7 separate regions of the Homo sapiens genome follow, and regions 1, 2, 3, 5, 6 and 7 are each linked to region 4. The links are contacts of gene promoters, found by promoter capture Hi-C in blood cells and fetal thymus (Javierre and others, 2016). All regions are on one chromosome and are shown on one strand. The core of a region is centred on a gene start or on the middle of the fragment in contact, and the rest is flanking DNA. Distances in the headings are between cores, read along the strand shown.

The links. The method cuts DNA at HindIII sites, captures the fragments that hold promoters and counts their contacts. A CHiCAGO score of 5 or more calls a contact.
Region 1: a fragment that was not itself captured here is called in contact with the fragment with the promoter of KRT31 in region 4 in 3 of 17 cell types (total CD8 T cells, total CD4 T cells and total B cells); the score reaches 5.3 in total CD8 T cells.
Region 2: a contact is called between a fragment that was not itself captured here and the fragment with the promoter of KRT31 in region 4, in 1 of 17 cell types (naive B cells). The highest score is 5.3, in naive B cells.
Region 3: a contact is called between a fragment that was not itself captured here and the fragment with the promoter of KRT31 in region 4, in 10 of 17 cell types (total B cells, endothelial precursors, naive CD8 T cells and 7 more). The highest score is 8.9, in total B cells.
Region 5: a fragment that was not itself captured here is called in contact with the fragment with the promoter of KRT31 in region 4 in 3 of 17 cell types (activated CD4 T cells, total CD8 T cells and total CD4 T cells); the score reaches 5.6 in activated CD4 T cells.
Region 6: a contact is called between a fragment that was not itself captured here and the fragment with the promoter of KRT31 in region 4, in 13 of 17 cell types (naive B cells, total B cells, naive CD4 T cells and 10 more). The highest score is 10.8, in naive B cells.
Region 7: a fragment that was not itself captured here is called in contact with the fragment with the promoter of KRT31 in region 4 in 7 of 17 cell types (M0 macrophages, total CD8 T cells, endothelial precursors and 4 more); the score reaches 7.3 in M0 macrophages.

Annotation. Positions count from the first base shown.
Region 1 is chr17:41,054,312-41,058,329 of GRCh38, reverse strand. KRTAP2-2 (keratin associated protein 2-2) reads left to right here and starts at 3,100. Exons shown (of 1, transcript NM_033032.3): 1 at 3,100-3,832. The coding sequence starts at 3,119. The coding sequence ends at 3,490. The HindIII fragment of the contact is 2,231 bases long and covers 426-2,656 here.
Region 2 is chr17:40,984,307-40,987,006 of GRCh38, reverse strand. It overlaps KRT40 (keratin 40), which reads left to right and starts at 2,681. Exons shown (of 7, transcript NM_001389244.1): 1 at 2,681-2,700. The HindIII fragment of the contact is 2,850 bases long and covers 26-2,700 here.
Region 3 is chr17:40,925,737-40,929,797 of GRCh38, reverse strand. It overlaps KRT23 (keratin 23), which reads left to right. Exons shown (of 9, transcript NM_015515.5): 5 at 1,191-1,352; 6 at 1,438-1,560. It overlaps LOC107985072 (a long non-coding RNA gene), which reads right to left and starts at 1,195. Exons shown (of 4, transcript XR_001752886.2): 1 at 1,116-1,195. The HindIII fragment of the contact is 4,468 bases long and covers 575-4,061 here.
Region 4 is chr17:41,395,300-41,399,141 of GRCh38, reverse strand. KRT31 (keratin 31) reads left to right here and starts at 1,534. Exons shown (of 7, transcript NM_002277.3): 1 at 1,534-1,950; 2 at 2,147-2,229; 3 at 2,566-2,722; 4 at 3,519-3,680; 5 at 3,772-3,842. The coding sequence starts at 1,603. The HindIII fragment of the contact is 10,261 bases long and covers 1-3,842 here.
Region 5 is chr17:41,072,835-41,076,532 of GRCh38, reverse strand. No RefSeq gene overlaps it. Among named protein-coding and RNA genes, the nearest start is that of KRTAP2-4, 8.8 kb to the right of the region's middle. The HindIII fragment of the contact is 3,355 bases long and covers 577-3,698 here.
Region 6 is chr17:40,945,162-40,948,961 of GRCh38, reverse strand. The region is part of intron 1 of LOC107985072 (a long non-coding RNA gene); the gene reads right to left. Among named protein-coding and RNA genes, the nearest start is that of KRT23, 9.4 kb to the right of the region's middle. The HindIII fragment of the contact is 198 bases long and covers 1,888-2,085 here.
Region 7 is chr17:40,902,137-40,905,774 of GRCh38, reverse strand. The region is part of intron 1 of LOC105371777 (a long non-coding RNA gene); the gene reads right to left. Among named protein-coding and RNA genes, the nearest start is that of KRT20, 19 kb to the right of the region's middle. The HindIII fragment of the contact is 4,098 bases long and covers 1-3,322 here.

The sequences.
Region 1 (4,018 bases), core at 292-2,791, 340 kb after region 4:
CAGATTATTTCATCACCCAGGTAATAAGCATAGTAACAGATGGCCAGGTGCAGTGGCTCAAGCCTGAAATCCCAGCACTTTGGGAGGCTGAGATGGGTAGGTCACTTGAGGCCAGGAATTCAAGACCATCCTGGCCAACATGGTGAAACCCTGTCTCTACTAAAAATACAAAAAGTAGCTGGGCATGGTGGCATGCGCCTGTAATCCAAGCTACTCAGGAGGCTGAATCAGGAGAATCGCTTGAACCTGGGAGGCAGAGGCTTTGGTGAGACAAGGTTGCGCCACTGCACTCCTGCCTGGGTGACAGAGTGAGACTCTGTCTCAAAACTTAATTAATTAATTAATTTAATTAAACAAAAGCATAGTAACAGATAGATGGTTTTTTTATCCTCACCCTCTTCCCACCATCTGCCCTCAAGTAAGCTTCAGTATCTGTTGTTCCCTTATTTGTGTCCATATGTACTCAATGTTTAGCTACCACTTATAAGTGAGAACATGCCGTATTTGGTTTTCTGTATCTGTGTTAGTTTGCTTAGGATAATGGCCTCCAGCTTCATCCACATTGCTACAAAGGACATAATTTCCTTTTTTATGGCTGTATAGTATTCCATGGTGTATGTGTACCACATTTTCTTTATCCAGTCCACCCTTGATGGGTATTTAGGTTGATTCCATATCTTTGCTACTTTGAACAGTGCTGCAATAAACATATGCATGTATATGTCTTTATGGTAGAATGATTTCAATCCCTCTGGGTCCATACCCACTAATGGGATTGCTGGGTTGAATGGTAATTCTGTTTTAAATACTTTCAGAAATTGCCAAACTGCTTTCCACAATGGCTGAGCTAATTTACATTGAGGGCCAGGATCTCGACTAACTTTGTTCACTACTAGATTCCCACTGATCTGCACGATATTTGGCACATTGAGTATAATCAGAAATGATGTGTTGAATGATAAATGAGTAAGTTCTAAGGGGATTGGTTAAAACAGAGAAAGACATTATCATTCCATCCCAACTCTCAACTCATGCTGGATATGCATATTCTTAAAATAAAACAATAAACCAATCATGAAGAAAGATCTTTTTTCTGGAAATATGGTAAAAGTTTCTCAACAAGAAGACTGTTATATTCAAAAACTTTACATTTGCAGTACGTGCACAATGGAGTTTTATCTTTTTTAACGGTTTGGTAATTAACCAATGGATAGGCTCACAAGTCTAATTTCTTTCTATATATTCTTGATCACTGTTTTCAAAATTCGTTAAGTACATCTGTTTTTCTCCTCTCAGAGTTTTTCTTGTTAGCCTTCTAGAGACCTCCTTATTTAAAAGTGTTTTCTCAAATGGACAATGCCTTGTTTCCCCTCAAACCTATCATTATTATTGGATCTCATTTATTCCCACAGTCACCCCATTCTCTGGTTGGCTGAAGTGGCTGGTGCAGATCTGGGTAAGCCTATAAGAAACCATGCAAGTGGTGTGATCAATAAGAATGCTTACACTTGAACCTTCAACTTCAGATCTATTAGGCTGGTGCAAAAATAATTGTAGCTTCTGCCATTGAAAGTGCCAAAAACCACAATTACTTTTTGCACCAACCTAATAGAACAGTCTTAGTTGTAAAGGAAAAGGTCAGAACCAAGTAAATTAAGAGGCAAAGACTCAAAAGTGATTGAGTGACATAATTTGCCTACAAGTCATGACAGTTTGAAACAATTAAAAATGACAATTGGTTCCATAAGCAGAAATGAGCCCCAGCATAGCACACAGGGAGATGTTGAAGACACTGAGGTATGGGCCAGATGAGGCCCGAGAACACGTTCAAGTGGGATCACTACTGAAGGGTTTTGTTATACCGCAAGACTGCAACCTTCCTCTACATAGACTTGTTTGACTTCCTCACCATATTGGTGGCTTTGTTCACAATACCCCATAATCATTCAGTTATGCCCAACTATGACACTATCTCCTTAGGGTATGTTTCGACATTTTCAGAAGGCTGAATAGAAGGTAATTCTTCCCACTCCTGAGGCTGTTGGTAAGACATAGAGTCCTTTCAACCGACTCTAAAAATTAGACATATCATAAATAACAACTGTTTTCAAAGTAAATACACTGTAAAAGCTCCTAAATAAAATAGACATTCCTTAATACCTGGGAATGTGGTACCTACAATCCATTCTTTAGCTACAGTGAGTTCTTCAGCTTTTTGGGCTGATAAATAATGTTCCCACAGATATTTCTGGAATGAGTATTGGCTCCAACACTTACTAGGTACATGACCTTGGGTAAGTCACTTATCTGGTTCCTTATGTGTGAAATGAGAAATAAACAATATCCACATCCTAAGAATGTTATGAAGATTAGATTAATGCATGTATTTTTTAATATGATGCTTGGAACATAGTTACAACTTAATGATACTGGCTATCATGAAGATTACAGTGAAATTTACCTTGGTCTGGAAAGATACAACCATAGAAATCAATGAACATATCTCTAAGACAAAAACCACTGGATGATGGAAACCTACTAAAATGCATTCTTGTACCTCCAAAAAGGGGACAGGAAAATTCTTCTTTTACTGAGAAATCCTGACTTTTAAACTATCCCTGTAGTATTATCCTCAACTTGTTTTGCCCAGGAAGCTTAGCAGTGGCAAAGAATACTAACAACTTGAGATGCTCGCTTTACTTCAACTGCTAGCAAGTAATAACCCTCAGAGCATGCAGAGCACAACAGCTGCTTTGAGCTATCAAAACAGCAACTAGCAAAAGCGTCATTGAATTATAACGATAATTGGAGACTTTGAAGTTAGGGTCATTAAATTCATATTTGAACCATAAATAGCAAAATATAATGGGTCTACACTAAATAAGGAAAATAGACTTTTATGTGTACCTGAGCATCTAAACAATGTCTACAAAACTTACTAATCTGCTGGTGTTATTTCAGGAAGAATAAGTGAAAACAAGGAAATGACCTTGTGTCCTGGGGGTCATCAGCTCCCAGCCAGCGTATATAAAGGGCCCAGAGGGGGAGGAGGACATTCACACCTGAGAACATCCAGCTCCTCTCCACAGCCCAACCCACACCAGCCTCAGACACCACCATGACCGGCTCCTGCTGCGGCTCCACCTTCTCCTCCCTGAGCTACGGGGGAGGCTGCTGCCAGCCCTGCTGCTGCCGCGACCCCTGCTGCTGCCGCCCCGTGACCTGCCAGACCACCGTGTGCCGCCCCGTGACCTGCGTGCCCCGCTGCACGCGCCCCATCTGCGAGCCCTGCCGCCGCCCGGTGTGCTGCGACCCCTGCTCCCTGCAGGAAGGCTGCTGCCGCCCCATCACCTGCTGCCCCTCGTCGTGCACGGCTGTGGTGTGCAGGCCCTGCTGCTGGGCCACCACCTGCTGCCAGCCTGTGTCTGTGCAGTCCCCCTGCGGCCAGCCGACCCCTTGCAGCACCACCTGCAGGACCTCCTCCTGCTGAGCCACCACCTGCTGCCAGCCTGTGTCTGTGCAGTCCCCCTGCGGCCAGCCGACCCCTTGCAGCACCACCTGCAGGACCTCCTCCTGCTGAGCAGCCCGTTATCACGAAGGGCCCCTCAGAAGATGGCCAGGTCCATCCCGCTGCCCCTCAGGGCTTCACCGCAGAGCAATACACGTTTCCTTGAGAAGCCCATTTCTCATCTCTTCATACTAGCTCACACTATGCATTGAAGACACCTTTTCAGACCAACCACAGATGAGAAATACTTTTCCTAGGACTCCAGTCTAACTCCTATATCATGTTGTCTGCTTTCTAATAAACTCAATACTCCTACCATAGAAATCATGGTCTTTGTGATATTTTCTTCTGGGAGATTGTCTCTTTTTTTCTAGAGATACTCAAAGCAAGATGCAGAATAATCCTCTTATACAGTTCTCATAACTTAAGTCTGAGTAGTTTTCTTATAATCATTGTAAATGGCATTTATGGAGCACAGCTGAGTCAGGAAGATGGATACAACTATGACTT
Region 2 (2,700 bases), core at 201-2,700, 410 kb after region 4:
CCAAGAAAATAGTACCTACGAAGCTTGAAGGATGGCTGGAGCTTAGGGTTTGTGAGACAGAACATCAGGAAGTGAGCCCAGAAAGGTAAATTGGCACCAGGTTAGGGAAGGTCATATTTGCCAAGGTAGAAAGTTTGCATTCCATAAGTGGAAGGCGACAAAAAGCAGGTTTGTATTTTAGGAAAATGATTCTGGCAGCCTAGGTGGATGTTGTAAGGTAAGAGCATAGTATTATGCAAAATAAACTACCGTGTTGTTGTCGGTTTTTTTTTTTATCATGGCCTTTCATGATGTCTATTTCTTTTTCTCTATTCCCAATGTTCCTTTCTTCTGGTGATGATATGCTATAGAAATTGTCACGGGTGATTAGCAACTATCTGGGGCTGGTGGCATGGGGGTAAGAAGAATTTATCAAGATAGTTGTAGGTAAAGAAAGGCAGATATATTAGAGAACGTATGAAAATACGTTGCAAGGAAGCAATGGGCAGCACAGCAGAGAAGGGGCTGTCTGCAAGGAGACAAAGGCGTGCTGGAGATTTTACAGGATGGTGCTTGTACTGTGTGCTGAAGAGGGTTTGTGTGGTACTGATAACACTAAGGTTGCAGTGAGCTAAGTTACATTTTTCTATCAGCTGAAGGTCTGGTGATAGCTGGGTGCAGGAATATTGTGCAGGAGGGCTATGTGTCCTGGACCATGAAGAAGGTGAGTCTTATACATTACCTGCTTTCTTTCTTTGTTTTTTGTTTTTTGGTTTTTTTTATTTATTTATCACATTGTGCAGGTTAGTTATATATGTATACATGTGCCATACTGGTGCGCTGCACCCACTAACTTGCTTTCCTCTGGTCCTGCCAGCCTGACTTCTTTTCCCTAAGGAGGACTCCACAGAAATGAATTCTGGGTGATTTCTATATTCTACGATGGAGACTATAGCTATAGATCATTATACAACACTACCTAATTAATCAAGACCAAAATAAATAGTCCTACCTGCAGGACAATAACCAGTAACAAATAATTTACAATTAGAAATTAGTTCCAGACAGAAGGAAATATTTCTTATTTTACCTGCACTTACATGACTGCATTTTAGCTAACTGGAGCCTGTGATGGACAACCAAAACATGGGTTTTCTTCACAGATATTTTTCTTTTGACTCATTAGGTTACTGTGAAAAGATAATTTTCTTTCAGAGATTTGTAATTTTTCAGAAGTGTTTTTGAATCCTTGAACTCATATTTGTTGCAGAGCAGCGTCAATATACCATGAGACACTCTAAGAACTTTTTGCATAAGTGTTGATGTGTAAAGAGAATCACTAAATTCAAACCCAGCTCTGCCCAGGGAGTAATAAATCCTAAGAGACTATTTTAACTCACTTACATATGTTCTTCTGGTTTGGTTTGGTTTGGTTTCTACTATCAGGTACCTAGGAAGTAGCACTCAAGATTAGGAGAAAAAATAAGTTTATTCTGGATCAAAAATTTTTTAACTTTTTCAGATTAATCTGTTTTTTTCCTATAATGTTCTTAAAAATTCTAGAGACAATTTTCTCTATGCACCTTTGAAAATGAAATAAATGTAACGACTAAAACCAAGCAAAGTGAAATAGATTATCCTTCACAATGGAGGTGAAATCCAAGAGATAATTCAAAAAAATTACGTATCTCAAGTTCCTGTCTGTCAGATTTGGCACCAGAGATTTCATCCAGTGGAATTACTGATTTGGAACCTAAATAGAATTTTATTTTCCAAGTTCCAGTATTTTCAATTTTCATGAAATTCAGGCCTTCATAAATAAATAAATAGGAGAAAACAGGCTCTACATCTCAGAAGAAAAGATTCCTGTGGGTTCCTTGCCCCTACTCTGAAGTATAATCATTAAGGAATTCCCAAGGGACTAAAAGGTTATAACTTAGAATTTATATTTCACTCTTATTAGGAATACAGGTAAAATAGTATAACTTATCTAACAATAAGCAATGAGAAATGTGGAGAAGGCAAGTTTCAGGAAATCAAAGATCATAATTCCAGCTCTAACCAATTTATATTTTAGCCTGCAGAAAAACAAGTTATTCCTATCAGTTATGTAAAGTGACTTTTCCATTTGTACGCAGGTAGACATGGTTTGCACACACACACACACTTTAAACCCAATATATAGCTCACTCCTCCAGTCTTTATCAGCACATGCTCTGAGATCACAAAAAGCATTGAAAGATTACTAATCACACTGACCATTTTTATGGTGGTGGCACAAACAAATAATTGTCATTTTGTGAGCTGTAATACTAATTTTAAAAGGGGACACAAGCAATCAATCCACAGAATCAAAATCTGTGGACATATTATTTTCCTGATTTGTAATGAGTTGTATCTATAATTATTCATTGGCCAAATTTTCTCTTTCTTTTATTATTCTGTCAAAAGCACAATGCTTCCTATGACGATTTTCTGAAATAAGTGTTTTGTCTTGCACATGGAAATGGTGTGGGTCCTGCTTTGGTAACCTAAAGTTATCCCTATTTTATGAGGCATAAAACTCTTCCTCAGTAAATAAACAACTCTAATGAGATGTTTGTACGAAAACTGGCACCATCAGTGATAAAGAAAACATCCGGTGCAGTCTGTAAACACCCATTTTGGGGGGTTATAAAACTCTCAGGAGAGGAGAGTTTTGGAGTCAAGGCAACTGAAGTT
Region 3 (4,061 bases), core at 1,559-4,058, 470 kb after region 4:
AAATATCTAATGTTTCTAATTTCAAGGTTAGCTAGTCACATGTCAAATACAACAACCAAAATGCAATCATAATTAATGATGAATTGGTCAACAGTTTTGTTAATACACAATGTTTACCTAGATGTGCTTGTTAATGTTACTATAAGAATCAATGCGTGAGACTGGACTTCCATCACTGGCCCAATGTTCAGCAAGTTAGGGGACAATATAATGAAGAGAGTCTGCTACCAACCAAGATAAGTGTGATGTGGGGCAAAAATAAAGAATCCTAATTTCCAGAAGCATTTAACTGACTTTTAGAGTTACCATCCATCACAAGTCCTCAAGACTCTGATAAAATGATAGAAAAACAGTTCCCATTTTAGGAAAACAAAATTGCTTCTCAACATCAAAGAGCTCAGTTTCTGAATAGCTGGTTAGACAATGATTGTTAATTAAACCTTTCCTGTGGCTGCTTGGTTTTCATGAAATCCTATGGGCGTCAGCCCTACAGTGTCACAAGGCATTGATGAGATTTTGAAAGCCTCTACACCTTCTTTCTGCTGTTTGCCTCTTGAACTGCTTCCCAAAAGCTTTGGCCTATAGCCTGTAAGGTTCAGCTGCTTAACTATGTTGTCACTTCACCAATCCACATCTGCTGAACAGGACTTTGCACACTATGGAAGCATAATTCTTTCTGAAATATTTTCAACCACGGATCAAGTCAGTAATCATGGAGGCTATTTGATTACCTGCCTTATGATATTCTTTTTTTTTTTTTTTTTTTTTTTGGAGACAGGGTCTCACTCTGTCACCCAGGCTGGAGTGCAGTGGCGCAATCTCGGCTCACTGCAGCCTCCACCTCGCAGGTTCAAGCGATTCTCCTGCCTCAGCCTCCCAAGTAGCTGGGATTAAAGGTGTGTACAACCACACCCAGTTAATTTTTTGTATTTTTAGTAGAGACAGGGTTTCTCCATGCTGGTCAGGTTGGTCTCAAAGATATTCTTTATTTTATAAAATTATTAGAGAAAAAAGTATACAATGTTTTATCACCAACAAGTAAGTAATATTTGAGAAACCAAACCAGTGACAGTGGGAGCAACCACATAATCGGAATGTTTAAAAGATCTATTTACCACTGCCAATCAACATGGCAATCCAGCCTTCTGATTGTCAAAGCCGGTTCATTTCCTTTCTCTGTTATTAAATAGGAAATGGAGAAGCATCATGTGCCAAGTGACTTCAATGTCAATGTGAAGGTGGATACAGGTCCCAGGGAAGATCTGATTAAGGTCCTGGAGGATATGAGACAAGAATATGAGCTTATAATAAAGAAGAAGCATCGAGACTTGGACACTTGGTATAAAGAACAGGTAAAAGAAAGATGCACAAACTTCCCAAAGGTTGCATTTCCATGAGGTCCCAATGCTGACGCCTTTGCCTTGCTTGGTCCCACAGTCTGCAGCCATGTCCCAGGAGGCAGCCAGTCCAGCCACTGTGCAGAGCAGACAAGGTGACATCCACGAACTGAAGCGCACATTCCAGGCCCTGGAGATTGACCTGCAGACACAGTACAGCACGGTGAGTCAAGGCTAGGAAAACCGTGAATCCCACACCACCTCCTTCACGAAGCCTTCTGAGACCTCTCTCCCAGGCCCTGACCCTCAACTCCCTTGGGACAACTCTCACTTTCCACTTTCCATCCAAATTGTTTATGATGAGAACCATAATAAAGGGCTACCATGTATTGAGTGTCCCGATGGTGCCAGGCATTGTGCTAAGTAGTTCATGATATTAAATGTCATTAATCCTTACAGTAACCTTCCCAGATAGGTCTTAGTGTCCCCATTTTAGAGATGAGGAAACCAAAACTCCAACAGTAAAATAAATTGGCCAAGGTCACACAGCTAGTAAGTAACTGGTGATGAAACCATATGATTTATTTGGAGGAAGGGGGATTCTAGACCCCCATAATTTCTATCAGTGCCCTCTCCACTTACAACCAGGCTACCCCCCTCAAACCCCAATGTAGAGAAATTCCAGTGCCAACATGGTAGGTGGCAGATCCAGGCCTGGCTAACTCCAAAGCACTGCCCTATTCATTTATGTATATGTCTTATCACCCAGAAAACTCTAAGTTCTTGTGTCCAAGTCATTTCTATCATCTTCACAGTTTAGAAAAATGCTTAGCATGGTCATAAGCATTCAAAATTTATGAAGGTCTATCATTTGATTCCCAGTATACCCTATTGAGTCTTCTAATCATTCATCCATATAATTGCCAAGTGCGATTCTACCCTCAGTCTTGAGAGGCAATGATTTGTTCATTTATGTTGCAGGTGCACTTGGGTAAATGACTGCTGTGTTTTATGCATCCGTGATGGTGAACAGACACTGCAAATGTGCACGTAGAGATCATGAGTACAAAAATAATTATAGTGCAACTTTCAAAACGTTTTAACATACAGTATTTCACAATGGCCCTGTGAAACAGGCGAGGCATGTATACCCATTTTCATGCATTCTACTATCTGACACCAATCCTTAGCACTGAGGATTTTTTAATGAAGGAGTTTATATTCTAGTAGGAGTGACAGATAATAAATGTGCAAATCATCAAAATATATGTTAGATGGAGAAAATTGCTACAGAGATGAAGCAGAGGAGGAGGGCAGATGCACCAGGGTGAAGAGCTGCTATCTTAAACAAGGTGGTCAGGAAAGGTTTTCCTGTTAGAGTGGCAGTGAGCAAAGAGGTAAGGAGGTGCTTGATGTGGTGATGGGATGTGTTCCAAGAGGAGGGAACAGCAAGTGCAAAAGCGACAAGGCACAAGTGTGTCTGATGAGTTGGAGGAGCAGCAGGGAAGTCCATGTGGCTACAGTGAGTGAATGAAGGGAAGAAGAAAGGAGAGAAGAGGAGGGGAAGGGAGGGGAAGAGGGAGGAAGACAGGGTGAGGCCGCGGAGTCCCAACAGAACCAGACAGTGTAGGGCTTTGTAGGCTACCTTGGAGGGGTCTCAAGAGGAACAGCAGGCATAGACAACTCTTTGAGGAGCTTTGCTGTAGCTGAAGGAGAGCAGAGAAATTGGATGATAGCTGAAGGTAGATATGGGTTTAAGAAAGATATATTTTAAGGTAGGAAAAATTATTCTATTTGAAAGCTGGTGGGAATAATCCAGAGAGAATATTGATAACGCAAGAAGGCGGGCAACTGCCGAGATGACTGGAGCACAGACAGCTCACACAAAAGAACAGAGGGAAGCCAGCACCCAGATGCAGATTCAAGTATGTGCCTGGGAGCAATGTAGGGAGCAGTGGGCGGTCTCTCCCGATTGCTTTCATTTCATCAACAAAATTAGGAAGCGAGGCCATGGACTCCGAGGAAGGATGGCAAGGACAGAGGAGAGGGAACAAAATAACCTCCTGGGAGAGTAGGAGACTGGCTGACCAGGGAAATGTGCTTTAACCGCCAGGCAGCATGAACGGCCCCCTGAAAATTAGCAGCCACGATAAAGGGAGAGTATCCAGCACAGTTAGGAGATTCTCTTTAAGGTTAAAATTATGCGCTTCAGAAAAGCAGGTGTTACATGCAAACAGAACTGGGACTTGAACTCAATCCTCCATATTCTAGCCCAGAAACTTCATTTGGCAGCTGTTAGAATTTCCTCAAAAAATGACATTTTTTTTTTTTACCATCGTCATAATCAAAAAGCATTGCTTGAGACTAGGGTTGCCAGATTTACCAAATTAAAATATAGAATACTCAGTTTAGTTGGAATTTCAAATAAAAAGCAATTTTTTTTGCATGTCCCATGCAATACTGGAGCAATATTTTGGACATAGTTACACTAAAAAATTACTCATTACTCATCTGAAATTCAAATTTAACTAGATGTTCTCTATTTTATCTGGCATCCCTAATTGAGACCCTTCTCCGAAGATACAAAGAGATAGCAGTCCCAGTTGCTGTCGCTCTTTGGGAGTTTTCAATCAGGTCAAAGATAAAATGAAAGGAGTTAAACAACAGTTCAGAGCAAGGCAATGGACTTCAAAAGTCCTAACACTGCTCAACTCCTGACTGCCC
Region 4 (3,842 bases), core at 285-2,784:
GGTCAGGAGATTGAGACCATCCTTGCTAACACGGTGAAACTCCATCTCTACTAAAAATACAAAAAATTAGCCGGGCGTGGTGGTGGGCACCTGTAGTCCTAGCTACTCAGGAGGCTGAGGCAGGAGAATGGCATGAATCTGGGAGGCGGAGCTTGCAGTGAGCCGAGATCGCTCCACTGCACTCCAGCCTGGGTGACAGAGCAAGACTCCATCTGAAAAAAAAAAAAAAATATATATATATATATATATATAAAGATTAAAGCCAACATGGATATATTATGGAATATAGGGTCAATTCATATGAAGTTTAAAGATCAACTACAAGTGATTTCAGGCCGTGGAGGCCCCTTTGGGCTATCTCCTGACTTTCCTAACATATCCATCTACTCTGTTCGGATACTATGGATAACCTTAGGAAATGTTTGACAAAGACCTCCTTATTCCTTTCTCTCTGCCCCTGAATATCTTTCCTAGATTATTTAAATGCATTTTTTTTGTTTTGTTTTGTATTTTGAGATGGAGTCTTGCTCTGTCACCAGGCTGGAGTGCAGTGGCACCATCTCGGCTTACTGCAACCTTCACCTCCCAGGTTCAAGTGATTCTCCTGCCTCAGCTTCCCGAGTAGCTGGGACTACAGGTGGGTGCCACCATGCCCAGCTAATTTTTTTGTATTTTTAGTAGAGATGGGTTTCACTATGTTGGCCAGGATGGTCTCTATCTCTAGACCTCGTGATCCGCCGGCCTCGGCCTCCCAAAGTATTGAGATTACAGGCGTGAGCCATTGTGCCCAGCCTTAAATGTGTTTTTTATGGCTCTCTCGGTTTGCACTTTTCAGCCTCTTTCAAAACGATCTCTTACCCCAGAAACTTCTTGTTCTCCAACTAGTTATCAAAGCCTCTACCTTTAAAATTCTCTCCTCTACAATTTTCTTAAGTAATATGTGGTGGTGGGGGGGAAGTATTACACGGACCCGTAAAACACAAATCGCTGTCTAATCTTTTCAGTCGTGTCCTCCATTGATTCTAATCATCCACCTTAAGGCTTCCAAGGCACAGAATGCTCCATCATTTGAAGATTCTTCTCTAAATGCAGAGGGAAAGACAGTCCACTGTGGCCTCTTAATGCAACTTCTTCCTCAAATCAATCCGTGTTTCTCCCTAGAAACGGCAGGTGGACCAGGACATGAGTATGTTTATGGGCCTGCAGAATTATGTGACACAAAAGAATGTCATCGGATGGATCAACACCTCAATTAATGAGGGCAGATACTTGGGCTGGACTGTGTAGCCTCTTTGAAGGCCTACCACAGAACTCTGATTTCATGGGTGGACTGTCTGCGGAGGAGTCCTGACTTAGCAAGAAGCCCAAGTAAAGAATTTTATGGGAGAAGGGACTCTTCAGAGGAAGGCAAATAACAGACTGAAGGAAAGGGCGTTTGAAAAGAAGTGAAGAAATAAAAAGAAAAAAGACATTACATACTGTGTCCACACCCTCTGCAGTGGGATATAAATGCTCCCTAGAGGAAGGAGACCCACAGCTCTGTGGCTTGGAGAATTTAGACTCTGTCTTCAGCCAGGCACTCCCTCCCTCCCTCCCAGCACTATGCCCTACAACTTCTGCCTGCCCAGCCTGAGCTGCCGCACCAGCTGCTCCTCCCGGCCCTGCGTGCCCCCCAGCTGCCACAGCTGCACCCTGCCCGGGGCCTGCAACATCCCCGCCAATGTGAGCAACTGCAACTGGTTCTGCGAGGGCTCCTTCAATGGTAGCGAGAAGGAGACTATGCAGTTCCTGAACGACCGCCTGGCCAGCTACCTGGAGAAAGTGCGTCAGCTGGAGCGGGACAACGCGGAGCTGGAGAACCTCATCCGGGAGCGGTCTCAGCAGCAGGAGCCCTTGCTGTGCCCCAGTTACCAGTCCTATTTTAAGACCATTGAGGAGCTCCAGCAGAAGGTGAGCGGCATTGCTGTCATCTCCAAGCAAGAGAGTTTGCTGTGATTCTGTCTGTGATAGAGAAGTGTGTTTCTTGCTTCTGTGCTGTCATAATTCTTGCTTCCTCTTTTATTTCAAAATGGCTTAAGTCATTTTTAAAAAGTTGATGATTTCATATTTATTTTCAGTCCTCACTAAGCCACCTCTCACTCCCCAGATCCTGTGTACCAAGTCTGAGAATGCCAGGCTTGTGGTGCAGATCGACAACGCCAAGCTGGCTGCGGATGATTTCAGAACCAAGTGAGTTGTTCGGAATTTGCACTAGTGTCAATTGCTTCTGTTTAATCTTTAAAGAAAAGGGATTTCCATCTGAAAACAGATCTACCCACTTGTTGTGAAGGATTCTGCAGAGGACTGGGGAGAACCAAGCAAAGAAATGCAAAAATGGATGAGGACTCACATCAATCTGTTTGTTTTGGGATGAATATTGGGTATTGATGGAGCCTCCAGAAACCTCTGTCTCCTGGGCCTATTCATTACAGAAAGTGGAAAGATAAGGCACATGAGGTTATCAAAAATCATTCCTGTGAGTCTTGAAGATCTACCAGGTAGTACTCTGACCCTGTCCTTGCGCAGGTACCAGACCGAGCTGTCCCTGCGGCAGCTGGTGGAGTCGGACATCAACGGTCTGCGCAGGATCCTGGATGAGCTGACCCTGTGCAAGTCCGACCTGGAGGCCCAGGTGGAGTCCCTGAAGGAGGAGCTGCTCTGCCTCAAGAGCAACCATGAGCAGGTGAGACTAGAAATGAGAAATGCACAAACCTGTCTCAGCCTCTGGCTCAGGGTTGCTTTAGTGATTTGGGGCAGCAGAATGCAGAGTATGAGTACAAGACTGAGGGTTTCCTTTGAAAACATCACGGTAAGAGAAAAATTGGAGAGAGATAAGACCTGTTCATGTTCCCAGACAGGAAACATCTTTCACTTTAAACTAGCACATTATTTGAGTTGCCCGGAGCAGCTCCATGTGCTTGCAGTTGATCAATAGTTGTAGAATGAGTCCTAGCATTGCAGTGTTATTGCTTTGTAAAGTCTTTTTTTTTTTTTTTTGGCAAAGGCCAAGAAAAAAAATATCAAACCTTATAAATGTGAGTCTCTACTCTTTCAAAGTATTGGTGAAGAGTGTTTGTGAGATTCTTCCTCTCTCTTGGGAGGGGCCATGACATGCTCTTACCTCTTACTTGACAGCAAGAGTTTTTTGATATATGGTCTGAAATTGCACAGCCTATTTTTTTTGGCATTCTGAGGTCCTCACAGCCAATTGTAAACTGGGAAAGTTGAATATCAATTAGTTCATCCTTCAGTGGCATCCAAGCAAACTTTTGGGATTTTTTTCTGAAGCCAAGTGCCATGGCACAGCAGATGGTGGGGAGGGGGCTATGCCACATGGAGTGCCTTGAGCTGTCACAAACTGCTCCACTCAAAGTTTCTTTTCCGAGAAAATAGACTAACAGGGTTTCAACAAGCAATGCCATTCCTTAGAGTTCATTCTTTGCTGAGCATAGTAACTCTTGTATTTTCTGCATCCATAGGAGGTCAATACCCTGCGCTGCCAGCTTGGAGACCGCCTCAATGTGGAGGTGGATGCTGCTCCCACTGTGGACCTGAATCGGGTGCTGAACGAGACCAGGAGTCAGTATGAGGCCCTGGTGGAAACCAACCGCAGGGAAGTGGAGCAATGGTTCACCACGCAGGTGGGCATCTAAGCACGTGGCCCCTCAGGACCCAAGGCCCCCCAGGGCCCCGGAGGCAGGGTCTGATCCTTTCTCCCCTTGGGTGTTTCAGACCGAGGAGCTGAACAAGCAGGTGGTATCCAGCTCAGAGCAGCTGCAGTCCTACCAGGCGGAGATCATCGA
Region 5 (3,698 bases), core at 1,005-3,504, 320 kb after region 4:
TTATTATAGTTTCTTTAATGTCCATTTCTTTCACTTCTTTTTATAAATTTTTTTACATATCTTCAAGACAGGAGAACAAATTATTTGACTCCTTGTTCTACTTTACCTTCCAAACATTTTACTGAACGTTTTTCTAATTTTTTCTATCACATTTTAATTCTCAAGCTTTCACTCAACTTCTCTGACTGCTCCTGTTTCTTAGAATCTTGTTTTTATTTCAAACAGAATTTCTTCTCTTAGCTCTCTTGAGTATTTTATTTACAATAGTTCTTGTTTTACAATTTTTTAGTTCTATTCTGCTCCCTGTAGTTTCTATTCCTGTCAAATTTGTTTTTCCCCCTTTTTCTTTTTTTCTTTTTAAATTAGTGTGAATTGTCAGGCTGGAGACATTTCCCAAGTGTCTGAAGCATATTGGTTAACATGGCACTAAAAAGCCAATTGAAAGTTCTGTGTGGACAGCAGGGCTTGTTAATTGATCTCTTCACCTCTCCTCCCCTTCATCCACAAAAAAGAAGTCAAGATTTATATGTTTAGTTTCTTTAGAGGAGAATCTTCCAATATCCTGCTTGGAAAGCTTATGGCCATCAGTCCTGGATGCTGAGCACAGTACTCAGATTTTCACTGCATGAGTCTGTTTTCTGTTCTATTCTTGACTTTTGTTCACTTTAGTATTCCCAAATCTGGAGTCTCTGTCACTAAATTTTCTGGAAGATAACCCTTGTTTCTCCTGGTTGGAAGTGGGGGAGGCCTAATGACCAACTTTGTAGGGTGGGGTAGGGATCCAGGGGTCGAAGCATCCTGCTGCCTACCCTGCCTTCAGGGGTATTACCTGGTGACTCCGGGTTCTGAGCCTTTCTGAGGATTCAAGGAAAACCAACTTTACACTCTGTGGTACTCTCTCTGTATGCATTCACATTGTAGCTCCTTTTGTTATCTTTAGTTGACCACCATTGCTCTTGCCCCAAATTTGCTACACTTTCTTATCTGCTATTGTCTCCTGTCCTGAGAAAGTAAGATGAGGGTTTCTGTTTTTTAACACCTTTTAAAAGTTGGTGTATCATAATGGATTCAAAGAGGATAAGAGGACATAAAAGTTAATTTTCTGACATTTTAAGGACCTGCTATTACTAAACTGTTAAAATTAGACTTAGTATCTCATATATACACTCCCCCTTAAGTGTTCCTGAAGTAAACTAGTGCCCATGCTCCAGATGTTGGTGAGATTCTTTCTCTGTGTTTCCAAAGCATGTTAAATAATCCTGAAGGTTAATTTTATTTTCCAATATTTTATTCACGCCTAAACTGCATTGAAGGGCAAAAAAAATTGTGGCATGCCTGTGGTCCCAGCTACTTGGGAGGCTGAGGTGGCAGGATGGCTTGAGTCCAGGAGTTGGAGCTTGCAGTGAGCTGAAATGGTGCCACCACACTCCAGCTTAGGTGACAGAATCAGACCCTGTTATTTTGATCCACACAAGCTATTGGTCATGTGTGAAGGCAATGGAAAGATTTCCTCATAGATTCAAGGACTCGGGATATATAACTTCCCTTTAAAATTCCTTTAAGAAATATTCCCATTGACTGAAATACAAGTCAAAATAAAGAATTCCATTACAGTATAGATGTCATGCATAAAATAATGGTTCTGAGAGATGAAGCTGATAAAATTTAAAAAGATTCAAATATATTCTAAAAGTGGTAGGGGATAAAAATAGCAAAGAATACACAAGTGGTAGGCAAATTAAAAAATGGGGTAACAATACCTATATTTTCTGGTAATAAAGTGGGTGTGGTGGCTTGCACCTGTAATCCCAGCACTTTGGGAGACCGAGGTGGGTGGATTGCTTGAGCTCAGGAGTTCAAGACCAACCTGGGCAACATAGTGAGACCCTGTCTCCACAAAAAATACAAAAATTAGCTAGACATGGTGGTGCATGCCTGCGGTCCTAGCTACTTGGGAGGCTGAAGTAGCTAGGGGAGGTTGGCTTGAGCCGTGGAGTTGAATTTTGCAGTGAGCTGACATGGTGCCACTGCACACCAACTTAGGTGACAGAGCCAGATCCTGTCTTTTAAAAAAAGGAAAAAATTCAAAAATGAAGATAACATATTTATAAATGTTTATGTGCCATAGAAGAGATCATAGAAATGAATAAAACAAATACAGTTTTGCAATATGCAGATATGACAGAATAGGCATCATTACTAGTTTGAGGCTCTGATAGATTTCTCAGGCCTAGGTACTTAAGCAATACTGAAACGAGAAACAGCTTGTATAGACCATTTATGGTCCTGGAATAAATTGAAGAGGGATGCCTGAGCCCAAAGATACGATTCTCACGTCGCATTACCATATCAATTTCTGAATATGTTGTTTTGAGTTTTGTGCTTACTTTACTTTTTTATTTTCCTCTTCAGCTAAAAGTTTTGCCTAGAGCTCTTGAGCCTACTGATATCATTTTGATTGATATCATTTTGAAATGGAAGGAAATGGCTTGAAAAGACACAGGAAATACAATATGAACTGAACTCCCAATGCAAAAGGGAATCTCAAAGTTATAAAGGAAACACAGGTAGCTGGGTGACTTGATCCAGGTCATGTGGAGTGAGCCCTAACCTTTGCATGTCTCATAGGTAGACCTGCATGCAAACTCTGCAATTGGAGCTTTAATGGAGCATGAGTGGATGAATATCATTAATGGGTCAGTGAAGCATCTCAAAAATAGAACTCAACTGCAATTCCAATTTGGTTTCCATCACTTTCTTTCCCATAATGACGTGTTTCATCACTCATGCTCGCTGATTTTCCCACTGACTCTATGGCTTCAGCCTAAAATTATGCCTCTTATTTTTCCATAGAACTCACCATGAATTAATCTTGACATATCCCTCCTCCTTAAAAGGACTATAATTTTTTAAATGTCTTTTTAATAAGACTACCCTTCATAAAGATATAAATATTCGGCTGTGATCTGATTCTCCTTCACATAATCTTACGTGTTTGAGACCTGTGCATGTTAACCTGAATTTTCAGAATTGACACATTTTATTTCTATGAATCAATCCTTACGTATGTATTACTTTTCTCCAATAGAATAGAGTCCTTTTTCTCACTAATATTACCAACATACTCTCCCTGACATATGCATTTAAATTAAATTCATGATTAATTGAATTAATTGAGTGGAGAGGGAAAGGAAAGAAAAATAACTTTCAGACCACGTGTGGTGGCTCACGCCTGTAATACCAGCACTTTAGGAGGCCGAGGCAGGTGGATCACCTCAGTTCAGGAGTTCAAGACCAGCCTGATGAACATGAAGAAACCCCGTCTCTACTAAAAATACAAAATTAGCCGGGCATGGTGGTTCATGCCTGTAATCCCAGCTACTTGGGAGGCTGAGGCAAGAGAATCACTTGAACCCGAGAGGCAGAGGTTGCCATGAGCTGAGATCATGCCACTGCACTCCAGCCTGGGAAACAAGAGCGAAACCCCATCTCAAAAAAAAAAAAAAAAAAAAATCCATGATTATGTTGTGAGTTACCTAAGGGAAAAGAAGTGGGTCTCATTCATTTTATGCAATTCCCAGAGCCCAATAGCTTGCTAATTTGTTCTTAATTTAATTACAGTAAAAATTGAGTTCTTGTTTTGTCTCAATAAACTTGATGGCAGGTAAAGTGAGCAATCTGTTTTGGATTAAAAAATG
Region 6 (3,800 bases), core at 737-3,236, 450 kb after region 4:
CCTCCCAGGTTCAAGCCATTCTCCTGCCTCAGCCTCCGGAGTAGCTGGGATTACAGGTGTGCAGGCATGCAGGCATGCAGGCATGTGCCACCATGCCCAGCTAATTTTTGTGGGGTTTTTTGTTTGTTTGTTTGTTCGTTCGTTTAGTAGAGACAGGGTTTCACCATGTTGGTCAGGCTGGTCTCGAACCCTTGACCTCGTGATCCACCCACCTCGGCCTCCTAAAGTGCTGAGATTACAAGCGTGAGCCACCGTGCCCAGCCCCTCTTCCACTTTTAAAGACATTATGATTATCTTGGGCCCACCTGAATAATTCAGGATACTCTCCCTATTTTAAGGCCAGCTGATTAGCAACCTTAATTCTACTTGTGACTTTAATTACCTTTTTGCCAAGTAACATCAGCTATTCACAGGCTCTGGGTATTAGGACCTGGGCATCCTTCGGGGACCATTATTCTTCCTCCCACACCAAAGGAAACAGAGAGAGGGAGGGGAAAAGAGACAGCCCATGTATTATCTCTCTAAAACCCCAAAACCAAAACTGGAGTAAGCAATAAAGTCACGAGTGTTTAAATTCACGAACCAATCAAGCTTCCCGGTTGTACTTCAACCCTCAGGGAACATTCTGACATAAGGAGAGCATATGTTTAAGGCTATATCTTAACTAATAGTTTGAAGATGTAAACATACTCCATAACCTTGTGGGGTCATCTCTTTAGAGCAACAATAATAACAATTAACATTTACTGAGTGCTTCCAATGTGCCAAAGTGTTAAGTGTTCTCTATGTGCATTTGCTATACAACTACCCATTTTGCAGATGAAGAAAGTGAGGCACGAGAGGTTCACAGCCAGTCACACAGATAGTTAGTGCCACAGCCAGGATTCACACCCAGGACCATGGGACTCCAAATCCTGCACTTTTAACCGTCATGAAAAACTGCCTCTTCCTCCTTTTTTTTTTTAACCAATATACACTTTGCAATAATTTATTCCCTAATTGACAGAGCTAGAAGGAAAAGACCAGAGTGGGACCTAACCAAAGGCATTTGGAAATGGCTTTTACCTGTATTTGGAAACTCAAGCCTTCCTAGGGAAGAACTATGAGTTCACTGCTAGGGTGGAAAGAGTGCCTGCCCTAAAATAACTTTAAACAGATAACATGATAATAGTAAGAATAAAATATAGCAAAACAAAAAATTGGGGATTATGTTTAGGATATAATTTATATAGAAAAGTGAGATTTTAAAAGCCACAAAGCATATTAAAATAAATTCTGTAAGTTTAGAACACTCTATAAAAATATATATGACTTCTCAGCAAAAGTATCCAAAACCAGAACATAGATATAGGCTTATTTCACCTAGCTAAAATAGAGTATTCTAACACACTCACACATACACACACAAACACACACAGACACATTTTCATAATAGTATCACTGAGTACTTTTTAATGTATAATGCATAGATTATCTCCTTTCGTTTCCACAACAACCCCATCAATCAGGGCTGAGTATTAATCTCAGTTCACAGCTGTGGAAATTAAAGACTGAAGAACTGGGTAGCAATGGCAGAATTGGGATGTGAACTGACAGCTGGTAACCAGGGTATTCATCAGCATAAATCTAGACTGAGCTTTACATGGACTAAGTTTATAAAATGTAAACTCCTGAAGTTCCTGTTTCTCCTTAAGTTCACCTGGGGACAGAATTATAGCTTTTAGGCTAGACTTTTTCATCTAGCCCTTGTGACTTCCTGACAACTTCATCGGTCTCCCCTCTGTCCAGACTTGTGGGATCCTGACTTCAGGGTGGAATACGGGTGTTTTTTAATCATTCTCCTCCTCTGCCCTCATCTCTGCACAGCAGTCTACAGATTACAAAGCTTGTATGTGTACCCTACAGACCTATTACATAGCTTCTGTATGTATATTACATACAGATTACATGTATCATGTGTGTACATTGCTTGAAAATTACATAGTTCAAGTATGTTTGTTACATACCAATTATGTGGCTCATGTATGTAAAGTACACACCTATTACATAGCTAATGTATATATATTACATGTAGATCACAAAGCTTATGTATGTACATTAACTCACTTGCTCCCCACAACAACCCTCTAAACTACAAGGAAAATTATTGGCAGTCTCATTTTCATGGTAAGAACTTTGAGACCAGAGAGGTTAATGTTGCTAGGTGGGTGGGTTAACGGTAGAGCGTGGACTTTAAACCCCTAGCCCAAAATCCTTCCCACTAGTCCAAACTGCAACAAAGATGCAGAAAATGTCACCATCAAGAAGATCTTCAAAAATTAAAAAAAAAAAAGTTTTAGTTAGAATAACAGAGCTTTGAAAAGCAAATATTCCAAACCAAAAGAAAGGAGGGAAGGGAAAAGAAAAACCTGTATCGCAAACTAAAAATCGAGTCGTGATTAGTAATCTACGAGCAGTAAAATAGGTAATGAGAACAGCATTCACGCATATAGAAGGGAGAAACCTAGAAGTAAATGTGAGAAGACACTGTACACATGGGTAAAGTCTCTGTAAGCACATGGGTGAAATACGAACCAGCAGCCATGTAGGGAGTGGGCTCTAGGGCCCCTTTGCCATTAACTCACTGCACAACCTTAGGCAAGTCTTCCTCCTTTCACTGCCTTAGTTCTTACATCCATAAGAAAAAGTCCATCGTGGTAGTTACTTGTCCATAAAGCAAGTTGAGAGCCTTGAACAAAAAAATATTTTGGCAAAACATATGATTACTCCCTGTCTAAAAGCCTACTGAATAGGACACATATCAAACATATACAGTTTAAGGTACCATAATAGACACCGTGTCTATTATGCAATCCTCTCGAATAACAAATGCAGCATATACACACCACAGGGTCAATTTATTGACATAATAATAGTCAATTTATTATTGACTATTATTATGTCTTCTTTCTCACGGCAGAAAAGTAGTTAATGCTGTGCTCTTACTCTAATATCCCTGAATATCTTACTAAGTCAATCAAAATTAACAAGCAAACTTCCATTGTCTCTCCTCTGGACAGGGGCAGTCCCTTCCTGGCCATCCCCACCACTTCACTCTCACCCTCATTCATTCTCCATGAGACAGCTAGGGTGATCTTTTTGAAGATCACAGTGCAGTACTCCCCTGCTTAAAATCTTCATTTTCCACATCTCTTGTGTTGAAGATCAAAATACTCAGCAGAGCTGAGAAAGCCCAGAACGACCCTGTGTCCTGTGCGCCACCAGCGTCCTCTCACCCTGCCCTCCTCCTCACCTTCTCTGCTCCACACAGGGTAGGCATTCAGTAAATACTTGTTCAATGAATGAAAAGGCAAACAATGGGTTTTTTGTGTGAACAATGTATTAAGGTTTGTTTCTGAATAAGAAGCAACATTGGCCGCATGCAGTGGCTCGCGCCTGTAATCTCAACACTTTGGGAAGCTGAGCCAAGCAGATCTTTCAAGGTCAGGAGTTTGAGACCAGCCTGGCCAACATGGTGAAACCCCATCTCTACAAAAAATACAAAAAATAGCAGGGCATGGTGGTGGGCGCCTGTAATCCCAGCTGCTCGGGAGGCTTGAACCTGGGGGGTGGAGACTGCAGTGAGCTGAGATGGCGCCAGTGCACTCCAGCCTGGGCAACAGATCAAGACTCTGTCTCAAGAAAAAGAAAAAAAAGAAAGAAAGAAAAACGAAGAAGAAGCAGCAATATTTGAGTGAACCAAACAAATACATGATTGAGTTTCAGGCAGCAACAACTATCAAGTGGGGAAGAATGCTGGG
Region 7 (3,638 bases), core at 24-2,523, 490 kb after region 4:
GCAAACCACCATGGCGCATCAATACCTATGTAACAAACCTGGATGTTCTGCACCTGTACCCCAGAACTTAAAGTATAATATAAAAAATAGAAAGACATTTTTCTATGGAATGTGAAGGCTACTTCAGTACCAAATAACAGTCTCTTGTGATGAGAGCACCATGTCTGCCAGGCGGCATCTGTTGCACAGCACTCTGCTGTGTCTTCCAGCCTCTGCCTCGTTCCCACTTCAGCCGGGCGTTCCTGCTTACATCTGTGGCAAGCTCTCAGCTAGCTTCTCCTCCCAGACTGAGAATCCTCCTAAACTGCACCTCTTGCCATTTACCCTCTAGGGGACAATAGACTTCTTCATCTTGTACCTGGGTGATACCAGGCTCTCAGAATTCCTAGGGATCAGAGGGGTGGGTAGAAGGACAGGTGGATCAGGTAGATGCATGAAGAGAGGCAACGCCAGTTACTCAGACTCTGCCTGGGCTACCAGAGTCCTGAGCTTCTTGCCCCCATTCGGGAGGTGTTAGGGGTCTCACTCCGAATCATTACTAGTTTGTTCTTTAGCTTTTATTTCCATTTCTTCCGTGTGTGTGTGTGTGTGTGTGTGTGTGTGCTGCCACTGATACTACTTTTCCCTCTCAGCGATTAAAAGAAAAAAAGATACATTTGAAAAAGTGGTGTATTATCTATTCTGTTAATATGATGTCAGTATTTATGAGGTGTGGTCTTTGTGCCTCTTTTTAAAGATATAAGGAATTACTCCATCGCCAAAGTTCGGTGGCTTCTCATATCACAGAGTAAAAGGCAGGTTCCTTGCTGGATGATGGCATCCACATCCCTCACCATTCACCTCCGAATTGCTGAGGTCCTTTCCACCACCCTCCCTTCCATCCCTGAGCACCCCCACATCCCCACTGCTCCACCCACACTCACACCTAAACTGCTATAGACCTTTGCACCTGAGCTGCCATATGGCTCTTTTCTTCCTGCTGTCATTCAAATACCACTCTCACAGGGAGGCCCATTCTCATCTCTCTACACACAAGGGCAACTTTCCCAGCCCTCCCCACCCTTCCTTTTTCTCCTCTGACCTACTCCCTTCACCTCTAGCTCCCACCCCTGAATCTAAGTTCCGCCAGGGCAGAAACGTTTGTGTTTTTTTAACTACTGTATCCCCAGCATCTGCAACAAAACCTTGCACACACTGATATTCACACAGACTTGTGAATTCATGAATGAATGCGTGAGTGAATGAATGAATACATCATATACTATACAAGGTTCATAGTAAAAAATAGCAGCCCCTGGTGTCCCCACTCCTGAATGTTTCTCTCTGAAATCTTTTAGCTATTGTTTCTGGTATTAACCTGCATATCTCTAAGGAATATGCTTACACTGCTATTTCTTGTTTTATCAACTTAAGACGTTAAAGACCGGGCACGGTGGCTCACGCCTGTAATCCCAGCACTTTGGGAGGCCGAGGTGGGCGGATCACGAGGTCAGGAGTTGGAGACCATCCTGGCTAACACGGTGAAGCCCCGTCTCTACTAAATATACAAAAAAAAATTAGCCGGGCGAGGTGATGGGCACCTGTAGTCCCAGCTACTCGGGAGGCTGAGGCAGGAGAATGGCGTGAACCCAGGAGGTGGAGCTTGCAGTGAGCCGAGATCACGCCACCGCACTCCAGCCTGGGCGACAGAGCGAGACTCCGTCTCAAAAAAAAAAAAAAAAAAAAAAAGAAGACATTAAAGACCTAAATCCCCATTGTAGAAGATGGCATCACAGGATTCTTACACCATCTCACACCTCCGGTTGCCATTTCTCTACCTTTCCAGTGTGATTACATCACATTGTCTTATAATTTACATATATATTATCTGTATGGGGTTTATATCCCTTTGCTAGAATGAAGCCTTGTCAGCAGGAATTTGTGTTTGTCTTGCTCACGGAAGTATCCTCATGGCCTAGAACAGTGCCAGGCCCTCAGCAGGTACTGAGTAAATATTTGTGGAGTGAATGGATGAATTCTGAGATTTATGGGCTGTGACTTATCCACCAGTTACTCATCGCTGCACTTTAGGGATGCGTGGGCCACCTCCATGTCCCTGTGCTTTTCCAGCTTGGACTCTCCCTCAAACTCTGCACTTTCAGGAAAACTTCAATGACTCCCTCCCACCCAGCTTTACTTGGGGATCCTTCCTCTATATCCACAAATCTTTTCGTGAACATTATATATAATTCCCGATTAGTCACCGTCTCCGGCTAGGCTGCCGCCTCCTCGGAATCATGGACTGTGTCTTGATTTCTGAACCCTATTGGCTATCACAGCATCCCACCTATTGTAATTGATTCTCAAGCAGCTATGAATGAAGGACACACAGTCCCTGCTTGCCACTTGGAGGCAAGAAAGAAACGACATCTTCCTGTTCCTGGTGAGCCCTAGGGTGAGTCACTTCACCATTTACAGAGATAACATGTGGCTCGATTGCTTCTTCTTTCACTCTTCACTTCCCCAGGTTAATAATTGCCAGATCATGTCATACTCTTTATTTTTTCAACCATTTCACTTCTTGCCATCCCTTTCCATGTCCAAATCTCCCTCAGAAATAAAAATAAATTTCAAATTAGTCAGAGCATCGTGACTTCTTTCAAAGTTAGAATTACTGCCTTATGAAACATGTGATTCAATGTGGGGCTCCGCTTGACAAGATCAAGCATTCTAAACTAAAATGTACAACCAGTGGAAATATCTTCCTGCTCCTCGACTACTGATACTTTACAGCCATGGTTCTCCAACTTTACCATGCATCCGAAGCACTGGAAAGACTTGCTAAGATGGAGCCACAGATTGTGGGGTCCCACTCCCAGAGTTTCTGAGCCAGATAATCAGAGTCTGGGAATTTGCACTGCCACAAGCTCCTGGGTGCTGCTGATGCTGCCAGTCTGAAGCCCACACTTTGAGAACCCTCGCTTTCCCATAATGCTTCAAGAAGTCTTAGGCACTAAGTTGATGCACCTGTGAAGGGGTTAGATTTCCCTCCTCCCTTCCCACCACCGCCAAGATAAGTAGTTGCTGAGTGCAACATTACAGCACTTCTTAAACTCTAATAGGCACACAGATCACCTGTAGATCTTGATAAAATACAGATCCTTATTCAGCAGGTCAGTGGTGGCGATGGGTGTGGGGTGTGGGGGTGGCCTGAGATCTGTAATCAGCCCCCAGGTGAAGCCAATGTGGCTGACTCTCCGCCTAAACTCTGAGCTGCAGGCATTACAAATTATACCAAGTCCATTAGTATTAAAAGAAAGTGACTTTCTTAGGTCTCAAAGCTTTGAGTAGTTTTTGATTTGATTCAGGCATTTGATTCAGGTCTGAGCTCTGAAACTACTAATATACTTTCTTTTTTCCTCATGAGTCATCTTGAGAATATACTTTTATTCTTTGTTTAACATTTTTACAACATAGAAACAAGTTAACATTTTTAACTTTCACCCATATAAAACTTCCAACATGAATGGGCCCAGCTGACTCATTGTCACTGCCCAGAGATCTCTGAGCTCTATTCAAACACTGCAGATAATTGTAAACCTGGAGACAAGGTTGGGAGGGTGGGGCTGTTTATCCTTGTTGATTGAGAAACCTACTCT